2 separate regions of the Homo sapiens genome follow, and region 1 is linked to region 2. Evidence: promoter capture Hi-C in 16 types of primary human blood cells and fetal thymus (Javierre and others, 2016). All regions are on one chromosome and are shown on one strand. Each heading gives the region's core, a stretch centred on a gene start or on the middle of the fragment in contact. The rest is flanking DNA. Distances are from core to core; before and after follow the strand shown.

Region 1 (6,147 bases), core at 3,479-5,978, 98 kb after region 2:
CCACGGTCTCCCTCTGATGCCGAGCCAAGGCTGGACGGTGCTGCTGCCATCTCGGCTCACTGCAGCCTCCCTGCCTGATTCTCCTGCCTCAGCCTGCTGAGTGCCTGCGATTGCAGGCGCACGCCGCCACGCCTCACTGGTTTTCGTTTTTTTTTTTGGTGGAGACGGGGTTTTGCTGTGTTGGCCGGGCTGGTCTCCAGCTCCTAGCCGCGAGTGATCCGCCAGCCTCGGCCTCCCGGGGTGCCGGGATTGCGGACGGAGTCTCGTTCACTCAGTGCTCTGTGGTGCCCAGGCTGGAGTGCAGTGGCGTGATCTCGGCTCGCTACAGCCTCCACCTCCCAGCCGCCTGCCTTGGCCCCCCAAAGTGCCGAGATTGCAGCCTCTGCCCAGCCGCCACCCCGTCTGGGAAGTGAGGAGCGTCTCTGCTTGGCCACCCATCGTCTGGGATATGAGGAGCCTCTCTGCCTGGCTGCCCAGTCTGGAAAGTGAGGAGCGTCTCTGCCCGGCCGCCATCCCATCTAGGAAGCGAGGAGCGCCTCTTCCCCGCCGCCTTCCCATCTAGGAAGTGAGGAGCGTCTCTGCCCGGCCGCCCATCGTCTGAGATGTGGGGAGCACCTCTGCCCCGCCGCCCTGTCTGGGATGTGAGGAGCGCCTCTGCTGGCCGCAACCCTATCTGGGAGGTGAGGAGCGTCTCTGCCCGGCCGCCCCGTCTGAGAAGTGAGGAAACCCTCTGCCTGGCAACCGCCCCGTCTGAGAAGTGAGGAGCCCCTCCGTCCGGCAGCCACCCCGTCTGGGAAGTGAGGAGCGTCTCCGCCCGGCAGCCACCCCGTCCGGGAGGGAGGTGGGGGGGGTCAGCCCCCCGCCCGGCCAGCCGCCCCATCCGGGAGGTGAGGGGCTCCTCTGCCCGGCCGCCCCTACTGGGAAGTGAGGAGCCCCTCTGCCTGGCCAGTCGCCCCGTCCAGGAGGGAGGTGGGGGGGTCAGCCCCCCGCCCGGCCAGCCGCCCAGTCCGGGAGGTGAGGGGCGCCTCTGCCCGGCCGCCCCTACTGGGAAGTGAGGAGCCCCTCTGCCCGGCCAGCCGCCCCGTCCGGGAGGGGGGAGGGGGGGTCAGCCCCCTGCCCGGCCAGCCGCCCCGTCCGGGAGGGAGGTGGTGGGGGTCAGCCCCCCGCCCGGCCAGCCGCCCCGTCCGGGAGGTGAGGGGTGCCTCTGCCCGGCCGCCCCTACTGGGAAGTGAGGAGCCCCTCTGCCCGGCCAGCCGCCCCGTCCGGGAGGGAGGTGGGGGGGTCAGCCCCCCGCCCGGCCGGCCGCCCCGTCCGGGAGGTGAGGGGCGCCTCTGCCCCGCCGCCCCTACTGGGAAGTGAGGACCCCTCTGCCCAGCCAGCCGCCCCGTCCGGGAGGGAGGTGGGGGGGTCAGCCCCCCGCCCGGCCAGCCGCCCAGTCCGGGAGGGAGGTGGGGGGATCAGCCCCCCGCCCGGCCAGCCGCCCAGTCCGGGAGGGAGGTGGGGGGATCAGCCCCCCGCCTGGCCAGCCGCCCCGTCCGGGAGGTGAGGGGCGCCTCTGCCCGGCCGCCCCTACTGGGAAGTGAGGAGCCCCTCTGCCCGGCCAGCCGCCCCGTCCGGGAGGGAGGTGGGGGGGTCAGCCCCCCGCCCGGCCAGCCGCCCCGTCCGGGAGGGAAGTGGGGGGGGTCAGCCCCCCGCCCGACCAGCCGCCCCGTCCGGGAGGGAGGTGGGGGGATCAGCCCCCCGCCTGGCCAGCCGCCCCGTCCGGGAGGTGAGGGGCGCCTCTGCCCGGCCGCCCCTACTGGGAAGTGAGGAGCCCCTCTGCCCTGCTTGAAGGCAGCATGCTCGTTAAGAGTCATCACCACTCCCTAATCTTAAGTACCCAGGGACACAAACACTGCGGAAGGCCGCAGGGTCCTCTGCCTAGGAAAACCAGAGACCTTTGTTCACTTGTTTATCTGCTGACCTTCCCTCCACTATTGTCCTATGACCCTGCCAAATCCCCCTCTGCGAGAAACACCCAAGAATGATCAATAAAAAATAAAAATAAAAAAAAAAAAATAAAAAAATAAAAAAAAAAAAAAAGAAAGCCGCCTGACCTGTATACAGTATTCTGAAAAGGGGGTCGCGAGGTGCATGTCCAACCTCCGCCGCCGGGGGCAGCAGCGAGTCCAGGCCGAGCCGGGGCCTAGCGAGCGGGGTCAAATGGGGTGAGGCCTGTGCCAGACCTCTCCACCTCGGTGGCAGCCGCAGCCTCCTCCGCCTGCGGCTCCTGTCCACGCCGCGGCCACGTGAGCGCCAGATTCTGGCGCACAGACCACTGCCAGTCCTTTGCTGCTTTGCGCAGCCTGTCCTCCCCGCCAGGAGCACCCTTCCCGCTCCCTTTTACCACGGGCTCCAGCCGTGGCTGCCTTGGGGCTGCCGCCGCCTGGCTGTACTCCAGGACGTTGGGAAAGAACGGGTGGGAATGGTGTGGGTGGGGGTCAAAGAGGAAACCCAGAGATGCAGGGCGCCCCTTTCCCGTGGTCTGCCCCCAATTGCTCAGGCAGGCCAGTCACGGTGAGGCGTCCTCCCTCCAAGTTTATATTTATTATTATTTATTATTTATTTTTTTCACCTTCAAGTTTATTATTTATTATTTATTTATTTATTTTTGAGACGGAGCCTCTCTCTGTCGCCCAGGCTGGAGTGCATTGGCACGATCTTGGCTCACTGCAACCTCCGCCTCCCGGGTTCAAGCGATTCTTCTGCCTCAGCCTCCCGAGTAGCAGGGATTACAGGTGCATGCCACCACATCCGGCTAATTTTTGTATTTTTAGTAAAGACAGAGTTTCACCATATTGGCCAGGCTGGTCTCGAACTCCTGACCTCAGGTCATCTGCCCGCCTTGGCCTCCCAAAGTGCTGGGATTACAAGCATGAGCCACTGCACCTGGCTAACCTCCAAGTTTAAAGACAGCCGCCAGGCCCAGTGGCTCACTCCTGTAACCCCAACAACTCAGGAGGCTGAGGCCAGGAATTTGAGACCAGCCTGGGCAACATAGCGAGACCCCGGCTCTAAGAAAAATAGGCCAGGCACGGTGGGTTACGTCTGTAATCCCAGCACTTTGGGAGGCTGTGGCAAAAGGATTGCCTGAGGGGGAAAAAATCACCCTGGGGGTAGTGGTGCACACTTACAGTCTCGGCTACTTGAGAGGCTGAGGTGGGAGGATCATTTAAGTCGGAGGCTGCAGTGAGCTACTATGGAGCGACTGTATTACAGCTTGAGCAACAGAGCGAGACCCCATCTCCAAATAAATAAATAAAGATAGCCTCCAAAGATGTCACTTGCTTCACTTAGCACTTTTTATTGAACATATTTAGGAAATATATAACCATGGTAAAGAAAATTGCAATTAGTACAAATACACACTACACACATATGCACGTGCACACACTGAAACGTGTCCCTTCCAGCGCCTCCTGCCTGGATAATTTTTTTTTTTTTTGCAACGGAGTTTTGCTCTTGTTGCCCAGGATGGAGAGCAGTGGCGGGATATCGGCTCACTGCAACCTCCTCCTCCCGGGTTCGAGCGATTCTCCTGCCTCAGCCTCGCGAGTAGCTGGGATTACAGGCGCCAGCCACAACACCCGGCTGATTTTTGTATTTTTAGTAGAGACGGGGTTTTGCCAAGTTGGCCAGGCTGGTCTGGAACTCCTGAGATCCGCCCACCTCGTCCTCTCAAAGTGCTGGGATTACAGGCCTGAGCCACTGCGCCTGGCCTAAAGTAATTGTCTTCTTATTGGTTTCTCTGCCTTTGGTCTCACCAAACGCCCCACTCTAAATCACTGCAGACAAGGGGTTCTGTCTAAGGAGGAGAGCCCACCAGTTAAAACCCTTCAGTAGTTCCTAACTACCCTAGGACAAATGCAGACTTATCCTTCGCTCTCTGCTGCCGCCCCTCTCCTTCCCAGATCCCATATGGCTCCAGCCATATCCTCAGACCATCTGGGCTGTTGTCTGTCCTGCCACACACCCTTCCCACCCCGCTCCCTTGCAAGTCCTACTCAGGCTGCACCTACACAGCTGTCTCAGTTTCTATCTGAGGCTCCCGCAGCCTCCTCTGAAAGTCCTCATCACAGCCAATGATACTGAAACTGTTTTCTTATGCAGGGCACGGAAAGATCTATTCAACTCACTGCCCAATCTCCTCTCCTGGTGCAGAAAAGACACCCAGTCAGCGACTTGCATTATCTGCAGGCATGAGTGAATAATAATAATGCCTAACCCTTATATAGTGCTAATTCCACGCCTGGCACTGTTCTAGGCACTCATATAAATTCATGTAATCCACACAACCCCAAAACTGATGATATCTCTTCATCTTACCAAGCACTGAGCAGTTAAATAACTTGCTCCAGATATTAAGGGGTCGAGCTGGGGTTTGAAGCCTGGTTACCCATAAATGAACCAAGAACTGGAAGGAGGACAAGAGCTCCGAGAAGGAGTCAGGTAGGGCGTGATCTGTGCGCTTTACATCTAAGATCTTCCAGCTCCCAGGGAGCCCGTTTCATAGAGCAGGAGATAGAGGCTGGGAGGGACACGGAGAGCCTCGAGAGCCGTGTGGAGGAAGCGGTGCTGTTTGGGGTCCGGGAGCAAGGGCGTGGCCTGGATGCGCGGGCGCCCGGGACGGCACGTCCTCAGACCAAACTACAACTCCCAGGACCCAGCGGGCGCTGCCGCCCACGCGACGTCACGGCGGCGGAGGGCGCAGGCGGCTGGGCGCCTGGCGAGTGGACTGTTCGAGCCCTTCCGCTGGGACCCGGGCCCTGGCTCCGGCCCCGCGGTAAGTGGGGCGACCCCAGCCTACTCAGTCCGCGGAGGCCCCGCGGCGCACGTCCGCAGCCTCCATCACAGCGCGGGCGCGCAGACGGGGCTGGCATCTACCATATGGGGGGCATCCGGGCCGAACCAAGTGACCCGCGTGGGGGGTCCCGCTGGGGACTCCGTGCCGCACCCTCCCAAGCCGGCCCCAGGGGCCCAGGGCTGGTGTCGCACGTTCGCTGGCCGCGCTCCCAGGGCCCGGGTTTGAAGGCGCTGGGCAGGCAGGGGCAGCCCCGCCCCCTGAGAAGGGTACCCGGGACCCCGGGGCGCTGGGGCGAGGTTTTCGGGCTGGAAGGGTCTGAGGGGCTCCTCCCCCGACAGCCCTCCCACCGCCAGTAGAGCCTCGGGTTGGGGAATAGAAGCCCCCGGGAGGCTAGGTCCTTTGGGCGCGGCCTGTGTGCATCTGGGGAGACGGTGGGAGTGGTGGGGAGAGGTCGCCCGGGTCTGGGGAGACCGATGCACAGGTGGAGAGATGGTGCGGGTTCTGTGGATTCGGATCCTTACAACTTCCTCTTCCCCGCCCCGGTAGATGGGAGCTGCTCTCCGCGGGCTGAGCCTGTCAGCATCCTCGACGCACCCTGGTCCCTGAAGTCGGAGAAGAGCCCCTACCCACCCACACCCCCTTGCCCCATTTTGGGTCGCCTGGGTCCTCAGTCCTAGCGGATCCTCAGTCCTAGCGGCCACCGGGTCTGAAAGGAGCAAGACGATGATCCTGGCGTCGGTGCTGAGGAGCGGTCCCGGGGGCGGGCTTCCGCTCCGGCCCCTCCTGGGACCCGCACTCGCGCTCCGGGCCCGCTCGACGTCGGCCACCGACACACACCACGTGGAGATGGCTCGGGAGCGCTCCAAGACCGTCACCTCCTTTTACAACCAGTCGGCCATCGACGCGGCAGCGGAGAAGGTGCGCAAGGGGGCAGCCAGCCCAGGGTCCGGGATGTAGGCGGGAGGGAGAGTGTTGGGGGTTCTCTGCTCAAGGCCTCTCTCCCTCTCTAGCCCTCAGTCCGCCTAACGCCCACCATGATGCTCTACGCTGGCCGCTCTCAGGACGGCAGCCACCTTCTGGTAAGATTCACGCCCTCTATTTTCCTCGTGGATCCTGGAGCTCTCCCAGACACTCAGGCTCCAGCCCCGCCTTCCCTTCTCATTTTCTCCCAGAAAAGTGCTCGGTACCTGCAGCAAGAACTTCCAGTGAGGATTGCTCACCGCATCAAGGGCTTCCGCTGCCTTCCTTTCATCATTGGCTGCAACCCCACCATACTGCACGTGGTAAGGTAGAGAGGACCTTAG
Region 2 (5,641 bases), core at 2,399-4,898:
AATCCCAGCTACTCGAGAGGCTGTGGCAGGAGGATCCCTGGAGACCAGGAGGTCAAGGCTGCAGTGAGCTGTGATTGCACCGCTGCACTCCAGCCTAGGTGACAGAGGAAGACCATGTCTCTAAAAACATTTTTTTAAATATAAATAAAGGCAGCCCAGAGCAGCTGGAGGATATGGATCCATCACCCAGGGTTCGTTGGTCTCTGCACCCTGTGATTTCAGGGCTGCGTTTCTAAAGCACCTACTGTGCCTGCCTCATACCTGAGGGCCTTTGGGGCACGGGGCGGTCCCTCAGCAGCCTTCATCCTGTCCAGCCTCAGATTCAGGCTCCTGCAGTGCAGGCCCCACCTTCCTCCCAGGGTGTCTCCGCACTTCTCCCACCCGACTCCACAGCTGCGTCTCAGACCTCAGCCCTCCCTGTGCCCCTCCTGTCTTCTCCCATAACCCACCTTCCTCTCCACCTCACTCACTCTGCTCTTTCCTCTGGAGCCCCACTCTGGCTTCACTCCTTAGACCCTGGGACACCTATTTAGCTGATTAACTCCTTTTCACAGCCTCCACAACCAGCCTAGCACCAACCAAGGTTGCCTGGTAAACTGGACGCAGAAAACCCTGGTTCAAGCCCACCTCAACCATTAAAAGCTATCTGACCTTGGACAAGTCAGGTTTTTTTTACCCCCTCTGGCCCTCAATGTACTCCAAAATAAAATAGGGGCCATGTCCTGCCCATCGCAGGGGGCTTGTGTGGTGTTGAAGAGAAATAAACAAGCCATCTGCTGGGTAACAGACACACAGCACTGCTGGGCGCCAGGCCCCCTCCTAGGCACCTGATGCATATTAACTACTTCCAGTCCTCAGGACAACCCTGTGAAACAGGCACTCTTACTTCTCCCAACTCATACGCGAAGAAATTGAGGACCAGAGAGGTTAAGCAACTTGCCCAAGGTCTCACAGGAAGTAGCAAAATTAGAATTTGAACCCAGACAGTCTGGCTCCCGAAACCACTGTGTGACAAACGGACTTGAGAACCCCTTGGGAATGCCAAGGTACTGTTGGAAAGACAATCAGTCCCCTGGGCTAATGTCCCCTCCCACCACCGCCCCTGCCTCATCCCTCCCAGTGTCTCAGAGACCCCGTTTCCAGGTCCCCCACACCCTGCCAGGTGTCTCCTGCATCCCAGGCTCCTTGCTTTCAACTGTAGCAGGGAGACCCTTACGCTACCTGAATCTGTCAGCTTTTCCCACCCCGCCCGCCCCCTCTTGAATCTCCAGTTTCCCTGAGCTGTGACTAATACCAAAGCCACCACATCCACTCAGCCCCTTCACCCTTCCACACCACCTCCGGCAGCCACAGCCAACAGGATTCCTTACCTCTGAGCAGGGGCCCCTGACTCATTCATGAGGCCTCCCCCTCCCCTGCCTCCCCCTTACCCCGCTTAGCCTTTTCCCTCCCTCTTTCTCGAATTGTACCCCAATTCCACACCACCTGATCCCAACCCACTTCCATTTCCCTGGGTTTTGGAGTCATGGAATAGTCCTGGTAGCAGGGGAACTGGGTTCAAGTCCGGATCCCTCACCTGCTAGCTGTGTGACCTTTGGAAAGTTATTCAACCACTCTGGGCCTCAGTTTCCCCAACTCTAAAATGAAAGAGCCTCCCCGTCCACTTGCCAGGAGGTCAGTGGGGCTCTAATGACATCACGGATGAAAGCCTGCTCTGCAAACTGAGGAGGGGAATTGACAGCACCGATGCTGAAGCCGGCCTGCCTGGGTTTGAATCCTGCCTTTACCAGCTGTGTGACTTTGGTCTAATTACTTAACCTCTCTGAGCTTAGTGTCCTTATCTATAAAATGAGATAACATATATCTATATATCTAAAAAGATATTTATATATCTATGAAATGAGATAACCAGTCTCATAGGATTGCTGTGAGGATCAAAATGAGTGAATATGCATAAAACACTTCAAACAATGTTTATTATTACTGTCACTTTCCTCATGCCTGAGTGTATATTCAGTAAAAATGTAATAAAGAAACCTTTAAAATTCCCTCCCTCAGCCACCAGCTCCTCCTTGCTTCCCATTTGGCAACCTGTCTGTCCCCAGAGACAGCGGTCACTTGCCTCCAAACACCTTCTTCTCGTCTGTCTGTAACCTGGGTCCCCACCCCCAAATCCAGGGGACAGCTCTTCACCCCCAGTGCTGAAACTTCTGTTTCAAAGGCCAGAAAAGCAGAGACCTGTGTCAACCTAGCAGACAGGAAACCCAGATTGCAGTCTGCCCCCCACCCACTTGCTTGGTGACCTTGGACAAGTCCCTTCCCACGCCTGAATCTCAGTTTCCTCATCTGTCAAGTGGGGTAATAACCCCTGGGGTAACAACCCACCAGTTCCCTGTAAAGGCTCAGTGCATTGGGCAGCTCAGCCGGGGCCGGTACCCTTATTAACATAACACCACCAGCCCAGCACAGTGCGGACTGTCAGTGCTGCCTCCTCGGGCCCCAGGTCATTTCTCCAAATACCCCAGCGTCCTCCCTGCCCCTGAAACCATTCTCATCGAACCCCACTCCCCAGTTCCTCCAGGTAGCAGCCTCCACTGCAGTCCTTCCCCTGTCCCCCCAAAACCAGGGACTGCCTGGCCAGACTCTTGGAGCCGGGCCTCTTCAGGCCTGCAGACCTGGGGCCTGCATCAGCCCTTGACTGCCCGGGGTGCCCCAGTTCCCCCAAGCAGAGCACGGCCCGTGTTCCATGGCCCTCTCCTCTGCATCCCCATCTCCCACCTCTGGGTCACCCTGTCTCAGGCCCTGGCCCTCTGGCTCTCTCCGGAGGCCACCTCTTCCCTCCCTGTCTCGGAGAGATGCCCCCTCCCTATAGGGAGTGACACACGCGTGTGCACACACACACACACTTCATTCACTGCCAGGTGCTGGCATCTCAGTCCCAACCTGTGTCCTTCCCCGTAGCATCCCCTGAATCTGGGTCCTGCTAGACTCTCAGCCTGGCCCAGTCACCGCCCCCATGCTTCTCTTTGGCAAACCTGCCCAGGGGATGACAGTCTCCTCCGGTTTCTCCTGATATCCACTCTCTCCCATCCCCAGACCAGACCCCGGGGCCCTCCTGGGAATGCGGGGTGTTCGAGGCCCCTGAGACCTCTCCTGCCCCCTTGTGTCTTCATGGCCTCCAACCCCTTCCAGGCACTGTCCCCAAAATGCAGGTTCACTGGAGAGACATCAGGCGCCTGAAGATACTGGGGTGCTCCGGCTACCAACCTCCGATCTCATCCTTCGCCCCCACGTCCCAGCACCTCCCCCACTCCATCCCCACGCGCTCCCCCAATATTGGGGTCCCGCCCCCCCATTCTCCCCACCCCCAAGCTCACACTCCGCAGCTCTTGAGTCCGATCCTTCATCCTGCGACGGCTCCTCCTCCTCCTCCTAGTCCTCCTGCCTCTGCTGCTGCTCCGGGTCTCCCGCCTCTGTGCCGGAGGCCGGGGTCTGGGGGCGCCGGGGGGCGCCGCGGCCGCTGCGGGGGGCCTGCGGGCGGGGGCGGGGCCGGGGGCGACTGGCCGAGGGCCGGGCAGGGGCAGGGGCCTGGGCCGGGCTCGGCTCTGCCGGGCTGCGGTGGCGATGCGGCTGCGGCACAGGGTAGGATGGAGGGATGCGGGAGCCGAGCGCGGGGGAGGGGGGCGGAGGGAGGTGAGGAGGAAGCGAGGGCGGGGGGAGCGGGAGCGCGCAAGGAGCAGGGGGCATGCGCAGCACCCGGGCCGGGGGCGCCTGGGGGTTGTAGTCACGGGCTTGGGGGACACCCGAGGAGGGGGCGGGAGAGGCCTGGAGGCGGGTGGGGGTGGGCAGAGCCCGAGGAGCAGGGAGAGATGCGGAGAGCCAAGCGGAGATGCTAGGGTGGCCCGGGGGGTGGGGTGGCCCGGCGGAAAGAGGGGGTGACGGAATGAATTCAGGGAATAACCTGGGAGCCAGGATGTGGATCCCTTTCCAGGAGACACAGATCGCGGCTGTGTTTTGTGTCTGGTGTCTGCGTGAGGCTGCGCGCCGACCACCTCTGGGTGCGAGCCCATGTGTGTTCTTGCAGGAGGCTCTTTGGACACTATAAATAGAAAGACCGACCCTCTGTGTGGTTTTTACGATGCAGGGAACCAGCCAGGTGCTTGCTGAGAAGGACACGGGGCTTGTGTTGCACAGCCTGGGCCTCTCCCGCCGCGGTGGGTCTCGGAGCTCTGCTTGTCTGCCTCCAGGGACAGGGTGCTCACTACCTCCCAGGACCTCTTGGCCCATCTGCAGATGGCTCTGACTGTTGAACATGAAATTTGTCCTTAGTGGGAGGGGAAATCAGGTGCCCCTGAGGGTCTGAGTGACCTCCTGTTCTGATGCCCACCTCTCCTCTCCCCATCCTTACACCACACCAGCTCCTCCCACCCCCTGCAATGGGGCGCCGGTCCCCAATGGGACAGGTCTTGACTCTCAATCGATCCTCCTGCCTCAGCCTCCCAAAGTGCTGGGATTCCATGCCTGGGCCACCGCACCCGGCATTCTCTTGCCAGGTACCCAGTGACCTCCTTGGTGCCAAATCTGTGTCTGATAAACCCTCATCCCACACCGCCAGTCGGGCCTTACCATCCCTGACCTCTCAGCAGCATGTGACCCTGATGAGCCCCTCTTCCTGAAACCCTCCTGTCTGTGGTGCTCCGCCCACCTACCCCCCAACCTGATCTGTGAGTGTTGTCTCCCAGCCTCTTTCCAGGTCCTTACCTTTTTTCCCACAGCCCTTCAACCTCAGGGTTCCCTGGGCTCCGTCCATTCTCTCTTTTTTTTTTTTTTTGAGTTAGGGTCTCATTCTGTTGCCCAGGCTAGAGTACAGTGGTGCAATCTCGGCTCACTGCAGCCTCAACGTCCCAGGCTCAAGTGATCCTCCCACCTCAGCCTCCTGAGTAGCTGGGACTACAGGCACGCGCCACCACACCTGGCTAATTTTATTTTTTGTAGAGACAGGGTCTCACTATGTTGTCCAGGCTGGTTTTGAACTCCTAGGGTCAAGCGATCCTCCTGCCTCAGCCTCCCAAAGTGCTGAGATTACAGGCCTGGGCCACCATGCCTGGCATTCTCTTCCTTCTTTACCTGCATCTTTCTGCACCTCCGTGTCTGCAGTGCCCACATCTGTACCTGCGAGCCAGATCCTCCCCCTGTAAGACAGCCCCTACTATATGCCTAAGCTCTGAGCTGGGCACCAAGAAGACAGAGATTGAAGATGCCACCAGAGCCATGAGTAGATCCATGACTACAGTGGGCATGGCTAGCGCTGACGTGGGGACCTCAAGGAGGTGGCTGTCCCCAAAGTGTTCCTTCCTGTGTTCTCCCTCAGAGATGGCGTCATCTCCATCCACCCAGCCACTCAAAGCACAGAAAGCTGTCCTTGCCTCCCCGCCATTATAATGCCAGCACGTTCTGGGCATCCAACGTGTTGCATTCACTATGCTGGTAGCTCCCAGAAACCTCCCAACCTCACAGTAGCCACTGCTAAGATCCCAAGTGTATAGACAAGGACACTGAGGCTTTGCATGGTCACATAACATATCCAAGTTCACAAGGTTAATAAAGGGCAGGGCTGGGGTCTTGTTTGCTTTTTTTTTTT

The links. Contacts are between HindIII fragments. The CHiCAGO score rates a contact against its expected background, and 5 or more counts as called.
Region 1: the fragment with the promoter of BCKDK here is called in contact with the fragment with the promoter of STX1B in region 2 in 2 of 17 cell types (erythroblasts and endothelial precursors); the score reaches 5.4 in erythroblasts.

What each region holds. Positions count from the first base shown.
Region 1 is chr16:31,103,658-31,109,804 of GRCh38, forward strand. It overlaps BCKDK (branched chain keto acid dehydrogenase kinase), which reads left to right and starts at 4,729. Exons shown (of 12, transcript NM_005881.4): 1 at 4,729-4,822; 2 at 5,390-5,761; 3 at 5,854-5,922; 4 at 6,016-6,126. The coding sequence starts at 5,567. RefSeq lists enhancers at 2,029-2,845, 4,453-5,346, 5,347-6,147 and a silencer at 4,582-5,121. The HindIII fragment of the contact is 13,040 bases long and covers 1-6,147 here.
Region 2 is chr16:31,006,990-31,012,630 of GRCh38, forward strand. It overlaps STX1B (syntaxin 1B), which reads right to left and starts at 3,649. Exons shown (of 10, transcript NM_052874.5): 1 at 3,378-3,649. The coding sequence starts at 3,407. RefSeq lists an enhancer at 3,685-4,186. The HindIII fragment of the contact is 27,284 bases long and covers 1-5,641 here.